Regions from separate parts of the Homo sapiens genome. Here regions 1 and 2 are each linked to region 3. The links are contacts of gene promoters, found by promoter capture Hi-C in human tissues and cell types (Jung and others, 2019). All regions are on one chromosome and are shown on one strand. Each heading gives the region's core, a stretch centred on a gene start or on the middle of the fragment in contact. The rest is flanking DNA. Distances are from core to core; before and after follow the strand shown. Region 1 has its middle 24 kb from the start of GINS3. Region 2 has its middle 20 kb from the start of CNOT1. Region 3 holds the start of NDRG4 (NDRG family member 4).

Region 1 (4,142 bases), core at 905-3,404, 130 kb after region 3:
AGACAATATAATGCAGTTGAAATTTAGAATGTGAGACTTAAAGTACAGAAAGTATGGTTTGATCCCATGCTAAACAGATTAAGCATGTATTTTAGAAAAAAGACACTTTTTCCCTCTACCCATCTCCAATGCCATGAAAGATGTAAAATATTTCAGACCTGAAAGATGCTCAAATCTGTCAGCACTAGCAGTTGGGAAAGCAATGCAAATAGAACATTACACCTCCCCAAAACCTACTGTTCTCATTCTTACCACACAACAAACCTCGTTACAGACCATGAAAAACAGACGCCTTGTCAATTGTACTGACGCTAATACCAAAAAAAAAAAAAAAAAGTGTTTAATGCCAGGAACTGAGCATTCTGTTTTCTTGTAAGCAATGCAGTGTGAAAAAAATATACAGAAAAGTGGTACATTTGGCAGCTAGCGCATTTAAGAAATAGTGCCCAAAAAACAGGAGGACTGGGCACGGTGGTTCATGCCTATAATCCCAGCACTTTGGGAGGGGGAGGCGGGTGAATAACTTGAGCCCAGGAATTCGAGACCAGCCTGGGAAACATGGTGAAACCCCATCTCGATTTAAAAAAAAAATGAGCTGGGTGTGTGGTGCAAACCTGTAGTACAAAAAACTCGGGAGGCTAAGATGGAAGGATTGCTTGAGCCTGGGAAGTTGAGGCTGCAGTGAGCTGTGATCACGCCACTGCACTCCAGCCTGGGCAATAGAGTGAGACCTTGTCTCAAAAAAAAACAAAAAAACAGGAGAGAAGAAGCAGATCTCTGATTTACTGAAAAATGCATGATTTTTATAAGGTCTATTGTGAATGGAAAACCCTCCCAGCTTTGTAGGAGTTAGATCATTGATGCACTTTGGTATTTAAGAATAAGGCCAGGCTTAGGCAAAACCAAATCCCGTGGACTGTGAGGATGTGTGTGTGTGAGAGGGTATTATGTTCAGTGTCCCATTTGGATAATGAATTCTGTCACTGAGAATTGGCTGCTCCATTAAGGATCTCTGATAACTGCCTCTCTTTAGCCTGCTTAGTTCTCAGAGGCTGTGTGGGAAGAGTCACCTTTCCTGGGACACCAAAATCATGCCCTGTGCAGGTGGAGTTTCCCTGGTGATGATGCCCTTGGCTGCTTGTGCTGGTGTCCTGGTTTTGGGGATGCTAGCTGGGTCTATGTCTGGGATGACCAACTGTCCCAGTTTGCCCAGGACTGAGAAGTTTCTTGGGACACAAGACTTTTAGTGTTAAAATTGAGCCGGTCCCACCCACAACAGCCTAAAAGGCAGAACTAACTCAAGGGTCCATTGATGAATAAATGAGCAAACAAAATGTGGAATATTGTTCAGCTTGCAAAAGGAAAGAAATTCTGACACATGCTACAACATAGAGGAACCCCGAGGACATTATGCTACATGAAATAAGCCAGTCACAAAAGGACAAATGCTATATGATTCCACCTATAGGAGGTACTTAGAGTAGTCAGATTTATAGAGGCAGAGAGGAGATGGTTGCCAGGGGCTGGGGAGAGGGGAAATGGGGAATTAGTGTATAATGTGTGAAGTTTTAGTTTGGAAAGATGAAAAGTTCTAGAGATTGATGGTGGTGATGTTTGCACAATGACACCACAGACCAGCATGCTTGAAAGCCATTAGAATGATAAATGTTATGACATATACGTTTCACTACTATTAAAAATTTAAACCTAGTCCCAGGCAAACTGGGACAGTTGGCCACTCATGTCTTACACCTGCCTGCCTTTTCTCCTCCATCCCTCCAACAGATAGATATAACTCAGGATGCTGCTTACTCAGTGTGGTCTCATCCATGGCAGATTTTATGGTCTCAGCTCCTGTTATACGAAAGGGCAGGTTCTGAAGCATGGGATTCCACTTTCCCTCTAGCCCTGGATACAGCTGATTGGATGGGCAAACCCCTGTTCCAAGCAGAGCACAACTCATGGGCTTGGCTTGAAAGGATTAACTGAACCAATCAGAGTCCTCCCTTGAATACTGGTTGACACAAAGTACAGTTGCAGCTGAGATGGACACTGGAGTGGAGAAACAGAAACAGGTTAGTGTGGTGGCTCACACCTGTAATCCCAGCACTTTGGGAGGCCGAGGGGGACAGATCATCTGAGGTCAGGAGTTTTAGACCAGCCCGGCCAACATGGCGAAACCCTGTCTCTACTAAAAATACAAAAATGAGCCAGGCGTGGTGGTGGGTGCCTGTAATCCAGCTACTTAGGAGGCTGAGGCAGGAGAATCACTTGAGCCCAGGAGGAGGAGGTTGCAGTGAGCTGAGATTGCAGGACTGCACTCCAGCCTGGGTGACAGGGTGAGACCCCATCTCCAAAAAAAAAAAAAAAAAAAAAAAAAAAAAGATACAGTGGCTCAGGAAATATCCCTGTAATAATAGGTTTAGCAAAGCACAGAAAAGACTCTGGTGGTAACACGTAGTGTATACGTATGTGTAGATATAGAATATATATATATATATGCATATATAAAATAACAATACTATTTGAAGCTTTGCTATAGGATTTTTTTTCCCCAACAGAAGATCCATATACCTTGTTACTGCTCTGCCTATCTCATTTTCTGTCAGTTTTCACCCACATCCTCTCCTCTCCAAGCTCAGCCACAGTTATTATTGCCTTTAGCCCTTTGTGCCTGAGGTTCCCTTCCTAGCAGGGTCTCCCTGTTGGCCCCAGTGAATTGAAATTCATCTCATGCTCACTGAGCCTCTACTAGGTGTCATATACTGTGCCAAGCACTGCATATGCATGACCTCACTTTCACCTGCATAACAACTCTCTGTGGTGGGAACTATTATTTTCCTCATTTTACAAATTAGGAATTTACCTGCTATGCTTTGAAAGTGTCCTACAAAGTTCATGTCTTGGAAGCTTAATCCCCAATGCAACAGTGTTAAGAGGTAGAAACTTTAAGAAGAGATTAGGTCATGAAGACTCTGCCCTTATCTATAGATTAACCCAGAAGAGTGGGTTTGTTATAAAAGCAAGTTCAGCCCTCTTCCTGTGTGCCTGGGTTCTCTTTTGCCTTTCCACCTTCTGCCATGGGATGATACAGCAAGAAGGCCCTCACTGGATACCAGCACCTTGATCTTGGACTTCCCAGTTTCCAGAACAGTGAGAAAATAAATTTATGTTCTTTATAAATTACCCAGTCTGTGGTTACTCTGTTACAGCAGCACGAAATAGACTAAGACATTACCCAAGATCTCATAGCTCATAAGTGGTTGACCTTGTATTCAAAACACAAGTCTATTGAAGTTCATTGCTTGTGCTCTTAATCACTACATCACACTAGCATCTGCTTAGAAGAATTAATCACTTGAACCAATAAAAAAAGTTATATGAAATTAAATTAATACATTTTTCTTACAGAGGCTGTGATATGAAGAAAGCTATGCTGTAAGTTTTCTATATCTGCCGATTGGATTTATAATCTCAAGGCATTTTGTAATCAAATACAAGTTCCCAAAATTTCCACAAAGAGAAACGTCACTTATATAGTTCTGAGCTGTTCTGCCAGCCATATACCACAATGCAATCTTTCTAATCACTGTGTGACAATGCATAAGCACTGCTTAGTAATATATCGTACCACATGGCTTTGTGTCAGCATTTCTGAGTCATGGCTGTGTACCTATAACAGTCAAGTGACATATGCTCTAATGGGGTCTGACTCACTTAAATAAGTCCATTAACTTGACAAGTTTGATTTTATAAAGCTGAAGAGGACTCTCTGAGCTCTGGGTTTTTTTCATCTCTATATAAAACTATGGTATGAGTTCAAAAATATCCCTATGACGCTGTGTGGCCTTAACCATTGCTTAACTCCTCTCCTTTTTCATCTTGAATTAAATTTCTCAAACATATAGTGTGCCCTTGCTGTGTCCACCTCTTACGCCACCCTCACTTCTCCATCCCCTGAGCCTGTACTCTGGCTTCTGCTCCCTCCATGTCACTGAACTTACCCACGACCTCCTACACCCTTTTCAGATATTACCTGACTTGGTTTCTCTGCAGAATTTGATGCTATTTGGCTCTCTATTCTTCCTGATATTTTCTCTCCTCTTGCATTCCACTATGGCATTCTACCTTGGTACTTCTCT
Region 2 (4,112 bases), core at 1,042-3,541, 150 kb before region 3:
ATTTGATCAGTGAGCTGTAAACGCATTGCATAAAAAACCTCAGGAAAGACACTTTACCTCTCTGAGTCCAAATTTCTACTTCTACATGGTGAAAACAAAAATAAACATCGGACAAGTTTGTTGGGTGAATTAAGTGAGCTCAGTGTTGGAACGTCCTCAGCATTTGGGCTGGCCCAGGGTGTGTGCACTGCAGGTGTGGCCACCAGAACACAGAACACACCACTCTATCAAGTGCATCCTGCCAGGGTGCTCTGCTGGGTAATCAGGTTTTGGTTGTTGATTTTTTTTTTTGGTGTTTTTTTTTTGAGATGGAGTTTCACTCTTGTTGCCCAGGCTGGAGTGCAATGGCGCAATCTCTGCTCACTGCAACCTCCACCTCCTGAGTTCAAGCGATTCTCCTGCCTCAGCCTCCTGAGTAGCTGGGATTACAAGCATGGGCCACCATGCCCGGCTAATTTTTTTGTATTTTTAGTAGAGATGGGGTTTCTCCATGTTGGTCAGGCTGGTCTTGAACTCATAACCTCAGGTGATCCGCCCGCCTCAGCCTCCCAAAGTGCTGGGATTACAAGCGTGAGCCACCCGCCTGGCCTTTTTTTTTTTTTGAGACAGAGTCTCACTCTGTTGCCTAGGCTGGAGTGCAGTGGCATGATCTTGGCTCACTGCAACCTCCACCTCCCGGGTTCAAGCGATTCTCCTGCCTCAGTAGAATAGCTCCTGAGTAGCTGGAATTACAGGTGCAGGCCACCACGCCTGGCTAATTTTTGTATTTTTTGTAGAGATGGGGTTTCACCATGTTGGTCAGGCTGGTCTCAAACTCCTGACCTCGTGATCTGCCTGCCTCAGCCTCCCAAAGTGCTGAGATTACAAGTGTGAGCCACCGCGTCTGGCCAATTTTTTTTTTTTTTTTTTTAAGAGACAGGGGTCTAGGCTGGGTGCGGTGGCTCACGCCTGTAATCCCAGCACTTTGGGAGGCCGAGGCGGGCGGATCACGAGGTCAAAAGATCAAGATCATCCTGGCTAACATGGTGAAACCCCGTCTCTACTAAATACACAAAAAATTAGCCGGGCGTGGTGGCAGGCGCCTGTAGTCCCAACTACTCAGGAGGCTGAGGCAAGAGAATGGTGTGAACAGAGGAGGCGGAGCTTGCAGTGAGCCGAGATGGTGCCACTGCACTCCATCCTGGGCGACAGAGTGAGACGCCGTCTCAAAAAAAAAAATAAAAGAGACAGGGGTCTGGCTATGTTGCCCAGGCTGGTCTTGAACTCCTGAGCTCAAGTGATCCTCCCACCTTGGTATCCCAAACTGCCAGGACTACAGGCAAGGCATTAGCCACCATGCCTGGACCAGGTTTTAGTTTTTTTCTTAATTGTTTACAATCTTGCCCCACCCTTTCTTCATTTTAAAGGGAATTTATGCTCCTATTTGGCTGGGCTGGGCTCATTCTGCCACACTGAGCTGCTTGCTCTTCTAACGTCCTCCAGAGTTTCTGGCTCTGGAGTCCTGAGTCTGCCTTGCCCGCAGCCTTTACAGCCTGGCACTAGGTCAATCGGAGCTCCTTTGGGACCTTCAGCATAGCTGTGGCTTGTAAGAAGGAAAAAGTAGGCCAGATGACCTTCATCCCTGAGAAGAAGACCCTGCCTCACCCAGTAGGGCCATTTCCCAGCCAGAATTCTCTCCCTCCTCTGTGGAGCTGCAGCCAGGACCACCACTCAGCCAGAGCACGGAGGCTTTAATGAAGAGTCCCTCGGGACTGTAAAAACCTGTGAAAGTGATCGGCCGGGCGCAGTGGCTCAAGCCTGTAATCCCAGCACTTTGGGAGGCTGAGGCGGGCAAATCACAAGGTCAGGAGATCGAGACCATCCTGGCTAACACGGTGAAACCCCGTCTCTACTAAAAATACAAAAAATTAGCCGGGCGTGGTGGCGGACTCCTGTAGTCCCAGCTACTCGGGAGGCTGACGCGGGAGAATGGCGTGAACCCAGGAGGTGGAGCCTGCAGTGAGCCGAGATGGCACCACTGCACTCCAGCCTGGGCGACAGAGTGAGACTCCGTCACAAAACAAACAAACAAAAAACCTGTGAAAGTGAAAGAAAGTGATCCTTTGGTACTGTGTCTTGGGGTGGCCAGGCAGGGTAAATGTCATGGGTATGTGACCCACGCAGTCACTCAGGGACCTCTGTTTAGAATGTCCCTGCTCTTGGTTTAATGCTCTTGAATTTTTTTTTTTTTTTTTTTTTTTTTGAGACAGAGTCTTGCTCTGTCGCCCAGGCTACAGTTCACTGACCCAATCTTGGCTCATAGCAACCCTGGCCTCCCGAGTTCAAGCGATTCTCCTGCCTCAGCCTCCCGAGTAGCTGGGATTATAGGCGCCAGCCACCACACCCAGTTAATTTTTGTATTTTTAGTAGAGATGAGGTTTCGCCATGTTGGCCAGGCTGGCCTCGAACTCTTGACCTCAAGTGATCCGCCCGCCTCGGCCTCCCAAAGTGTTGGGATTACAGGCATGAGCCACCGAGCCCAGCCTAAATTCTTCCTAACTCTTGAACAAGGGCCCTGCACATTATGCAGCCAGTCCTGTGGCCAGGAAGCTGCCCAGCTGCCTGGAAGTGGGCCTCTTGGGAGGCAGCCCTGTGTTGGCAAGAGAACATTGGCTTCCCTTTGTTTTCTGGGGTCCTCGCTGAGGACTCATGCTCCCCCAGATCTTGCAGCTGGTTCCTGGCCTGCCTTCAGCCCCGCCAGCCATATGGGTTGTGGTGGCAGCTATGGATGGTGGTGTCTGCAGGATCATTAGTGGCAAGCTTCAACTGCAGCCATAGGATTTCCTAGTCAGAAAGACCTCAGCAGTCATTGGCTGCCACCCTCCCACTACAGAAAAAGGTAACCTGAGACCCAGAGAGGGAAGCAAGTGTTGTGAAGTTACACAGCAAGAAGATGTTTAGGCTTAAAAAAGTGGTTCTTTCTTTATGGCCTACATCCTGCTGAGGGCAGACCAGCAGTGAAAAGAAGGAGGGTTCATTTAGCACTGGGCTGGGCCTTGGAAGACTTCTCTCATCTTTTTGTTTGTTTGTTTGTTTGGTTTTGAGACAGTCTCGCTCTGTCGTCCAGGCTGGAGTGCAATGGCACGATCTCGGGTCACTGCAACCTGCACCTCCCGGGTTCAAGTGATTCTCCTGCCTCAGCCTCCTGAGTAGCTAGGATTACAGGGGCCCACCACTGCGCTCAGCTAATTTTTGTATTTTTAGTAGAGACAGGGTTTCGTCATGTTGGCCAGGTTGGTCTCGAACTCCTGACCTCAAGTGATCCTCCTGCCTCAGCCTCCCAAAGTGCTGGGATTACAGGTGTGAGCCACTGTGCCTGGCTAAGACTCCTCTCATCTTAACTAAACCATGTGAAGTTAGGTTTAGCTCCCGTTAGAGAGGATCTCTGCTTTCTGGGAGCAGCCCTGCATGAGATTTAATCAAAGCAGCCCAGCCCAGCCAAACAGGAGCATAAGTTCCCTTTAAAATGAAGAGAGAGTGGGGCAAGTTTGTAAAAAATTAAGAAAAAAACTAAAGCCTGGGCCAGATATGGTGGCTCATGCCTGTAGTCCCAGCACTTTGGGGTGCCGAGGCGGGAAGACCACTTGAGCTCAGGAGTTCAAGACTAGCGTAGGCAACATAGCCAGGTCCCTGTCTCTTTTAAAAAAAATGCCCACGGTGAAACCCCGTCTCTACAAAAAATATAAAAATTAGCCGGGCGAGGTGGCGTGCGCCTGTAATCCCAGCTACTCAGGAGGCTGAGGCAGGAGAATTGCTTGAACCCGGGAGGAGGAGGTTGCAGTGAGCCGAGATCGTGCCGCTGCATTCCAGCCTAGGCGACAGAGCTGGGTCTTAGTTGATATCACCTTGGCCAGTCACTCCCCATCTCTGGGTCCCAGTGTTTTCACCAATCCATTGCCTCGTGGACCTTAATTTCAGATCATATGAGTAAAATCCCATGGAAAGGAAACCATCCTGAGCATACTAAAAGCTGCAGTCAGTTCACACGCCTGGATGAGCCAGAGGCCATACAAGTCTCATCTCCAACACCTCCCAGCTGTTCCTTAACCTCTGCCGGCCTTAGTTTCCTCATC
Region 3 (3,725 bases), core at 773-3,272:
AAAGGGAAATGACTTGCCCAAGGTCAATCCCAGAGTAGGGAGGGCAGGCCCTGCCAGGTGCCAGTCTCAGGGGCCAGGGCGGTGCACTGAAGGCTGCATGTTCACAGGAGATCAGGTTCCACCCGAGGGAGCTCCTGACCAGGCAGCCCTTTCACAGCCACCTGTGAGTTCTCTCAGCTCTGGAGGGTGGGGCTGCAAAAGAACTGCAATGCGCCTCCTGCTGCATAAAGGACAGTTATCCTCCTGGGGTCAGACGTCGAGAGCCCAGGGCGGTGCCTTCCAAACCCAGACCCGCAGCGTGCGGGTCCGCCTGAGGGGTGTGAGGGGTGTCTGCTCTCTGCTGCTGAGGAGGCCCCACTGTCTTCTCCCAGCCCTGGTGTGGCCGCCCCTGTCCCCATCCCCCTGAGGTGACGTGATCAGGCTCTACTAGGGCTCATCTCCCAGGATGGGAAGGGCTGGGGCTGGGCCTGGGCGTCACCGGGCTACCTGTCCTACGAAGTCCAGTGACCTTCGCTGAACCCTGCTGCGAACCTCCCTAACGCCTTCTCTCACCCTCTGCGGAGAGCTCAGGACTCAGTTCAGCCTGATCGAAGCCAAACATCCCCGTCCCTTGGAGCGCTGCGCAAGGGCAGCCCCACAAGGGCCACAGCGCGGTGCACTCTGAGGCCCCCAACCCTCAGGGCCGAGCACTCCCATTGGCTCTGGGTGACGTCAGAGCCGGCCCCGCCTCCAGGTAGGCGCAGGCGGGAAGCACTGCGGCAGCAGGGGAGGGGGCTGTGGCGGCTCCTCTCGGTCGGTCCGTCTCCCCTCGCCTGTGACCTTGAGCACTGGAGGGGAGTGGGGCTTTGAGCCGGGCTTTGCGCCGGTGTGGGAGTTGGTGCTGGTGGTGCTGTGGTTCGGCCTGTCAGCCGCATCAATAATTCAGGGGACAGGGTCTGCATGGGCGGGCAGGTGCTGACGTCGTCACCTCCGTGCGTGCGGGGTGACCTATCGTCTGCGGAACCGGCAGGGCAGGCGTGTGGGGCCCGGGGGTGGGGGTGAGTCTGCCCCTGCCTCTCCCTCCTGAGGAAGAATGGGGCCGGGGTACCTGATGCCCCGGCGAGAGGAGGTGCCCTGGGCTCCACCTGGGGTCCCCTAGCCCTGCCAGCTTCACGGCTCCAGCGTTGCCTTCCCCCACCTACAAAATAAGGCAGGCAGGCAACCCCTCCTCGTTCCTCCCCAGCAGGGACCCCTGCCTGAAAGGCTGTCATTCCTGTGTGGCCCAGACCTCCTTGCCTCTGCCCGGCTGGCGCAGCAGAGCCCTGGGAACTGTGAGGTGGCTCCTAAGGAAGAGGCCGCCTGTCCTTCCCATCACACTGGCGCAGCCATCCAAACAAGCTAGACGGCCGCCCACTGGGACGGCAGCCCCTGCACGCACAGACCCGGCACGCACACTGGGCACACAGCCTCGGGGGCTCACCAAGGACACCCCCGCCCCCTGGCCTGATGGCCCCAGGCATCACCAAGGCAGACACCATCCAAGCGCACACCAGAGGGCACACGGTCAGAGGGACATGCAGGCACTAGCGCCCGGGTCCACACGGGCAATGCAGCCAAGTCAGACAGTGCCTTCCACGTTCCATTTCCTGCAGATATGTCACCCACCCCCCAACCACACGCTCCCCCCAGCCCCTGCTATGGGCTCTGACTAGCAGCTGCCCCCAGCCACTCCTGCAAACAGGATCACCAGGGAACCTGGAGCACTCTGGCCGTGTCTCAGTGACCCCAGGGTGAGGCTATTTGAAGGCCGGGCTGCCACCAGATGTGGGTTGAGGGGGGCACTTCCTCCCTGCGGTGGGTCATAAGGATGCACCATCCTCCCGGCCCACCTTGATGCCCGCAGCGCCCTCACTCACCCCATCCCAGCACTCCGGCATCTTGCCGAGGGAGGGAACCCGCCTCTACCAGGAAGGACAAACAAAGGCCTGAGTCACTCGGGTCCAGAGGGCGGGGGCAGCTCGAGTGGGAGATGGTCGGCTCTGTGATGGGGCACAGCTCCTGGGCCATTTATACAGGGATCCTGGCCCAGCCTAGCTAGCCCCTCCTCCCCGCAGGGTTTCTGAGCAGCCACTCGCTTACCAGGAGCCCCAGCTCCCATATTGGCTGCTGGGAGACAAGCCTGGCTCCAATTGGCTTCTGAAGTCCTCCTTGCCCCAGCCCTGTCACTGCTCCTCCCACCCCAGCCACACATCATCCTTGATGGTCCCCAGCCCCTGCATCCGCCCCCAGCACATAGGCACACGCCAACAGCTGCAGCTCACACGGGATCCTCCGAATACAAAAGCCGAGACCACACGTACAGACTCACCCATGTCAGGTACACACAGGGTCGTCACAGACATGCACAGCTTACCAATGCGGGGCAGGGCAGGGTGCATGGGCACTGCCCAGACAGCTAGAGCCCTTGACCCACACCTTGGGGAGTATGGAGGGCCCGAGAGGGCCCCAAGCCCAACATCTTGGGGACCAGACCCCCACGCCCAGCCTTCCCATTAGGAAGGTTCCATCGCTTAACCTTGTGGAGGCCTGGGGAGCTGCTGCTTTCTGGGGCAACTTGGGTTATCACCCTGCTTCAAGGGGCTGCTCCTTCTCCACCCACCAGGGATGAAAATCCCACCTTGCCCACGCAGATACAGGGGGTTTCCCCACATGCTGAAAATGGAGTTTGGGGGCCGGGGGCCAGGGGCCCTGGGCAGATAGCAGGGCCAGGGGTATGGTCAGGCACACACCAGCTCTGCCCTCCCCACCCTCACCCTGCTGCCAGGGGCTCCAGACCACCAGGGAGAGGAAGCGGGGCTAGGAGGCAGCTTGCTGACATTGACATGCCCACCTCCTGTAGACCCACCCGGCCCTCGTTCCCAGAGGCAACCAGTTTGGGGCTTGGCTCTCGGGTCTCTGGGGAGCAGAACACTAGGTCTATCTCAGGCTCCGTGCCCTGTTCTCCTGGGCAGCAAGGATCTGGGTGGCGAGCTCGCCCGAGGCCTGCAGGTGGAGTGAGCAGAGGAGAAGAAAGGCCAAGAAGTGCACAGGAGGAGAGGAAATAGGCCAGAGAGGGAAGCAGAGGAGGGGGCCCAAGGCTGGGAGAGCAGGAGCCACAGAGAGAAGGGGGCTGCTGCGTGCCTATGCTCCCAAATCCATGAAGATTATATGTATTATCGTTGCAACTGCCTGTGCAGTAGGCACTGCTGTTTCTCCCATTTATATATGGAGGCTCAGAGAGGTTGACTGACTTGCCCAAGGTCACACAGCAAAGAAGTGGCAGACCTATGAGTGGGATCAGGGTTTGGCTGGCAAGACCTGACCCTGCCTTGTCTGGCCACGATAACTGCACAACTGCCAGAAAAGGGGCCAACAGTTTGGAGAGGCACACAGACTGCCCCATTTCTCTCCTGCCAGGGCCTGGGCAAGGGTGGGGTCAGGGCACAGAGCCTGAGATAGCCCTAGTGTCCTGCTCCCCAGATACCCGAGAGCCAAGCCCCAAACTGGTTGCCTCCAGGAACAAGGGCCGGGTGGGTCTACAGGAGGTGGGCATGTCAACGTCAGTAGCTGCCTCCTATCCGGCTTCCTCTCCCTGTCTTGCTGAAGAAGGAACACGCCACTCACCCCAGCCCATGCTGATGGCCCTGCATGCTGACTGGCTGCCCTTGGAGAAAGTGGTCATCTCTTCATCTCTGGGTACCTGCTGA

Evidence for each region. Contacts are between HindIII fragments. The study calls those that stand out against the background at their distance.
Region 1: a contact is called between a fragment that was not itself captured here and the fragment with the promoter of NDRG4 in region 3, in 2 of the 25 tissues and cell types used here (dorsolateral prefrontal cortex and spleen).
Region 2: a fragment that was not itself captured here is called in contact with the fragment with the promoter of NDRG4 in region 3 in 1 of the 25 tissues and cell types used here (mesendoderm cells).

The regions. Positions count from the first base shown.
Region 1 is chr16:58,365,954-58,370,095 of GRCh38, reverse strand. No RefSeq gene overlaps it. Among named protein-coding and RNA genes, the nearest start is that of GINS3, 24 kb to the left of the region's middle. The HindIII fragment of the contact is 5,593 bases long and covers 1-4,142 here.
Region 2 is chr16:58,647,289-58,651,400 of GRCh38, reverse strand. No RefSeq gene overlaps it. Among named protein-coding and RNA genes, the nearest start is that of CNOT1, 20 kb to the right of the region's middle. The HindIII fragment of the contact is 8,503 bases long and covers 1-4,112 here.
Region 3 is chr16:58,498,440-58,502,164 of GRCh38, reverse strand. It overlaps NDRG4 (NDRG family member 4), which reads right to left and starts at 2,022. Exons shown (of 15, transcript NM_001242835.2): 1 at 1,896-2,022. The coding sequence starts at 1,916. RefSeq lists enhancers at 71-120, 1-529, 530-1,347, 1,348-2,164 and silencers at 2,044-2,103, 2,114-2,193. The HindIII fragment of the contact is 53,618 bases long and covers 1-3,725 here.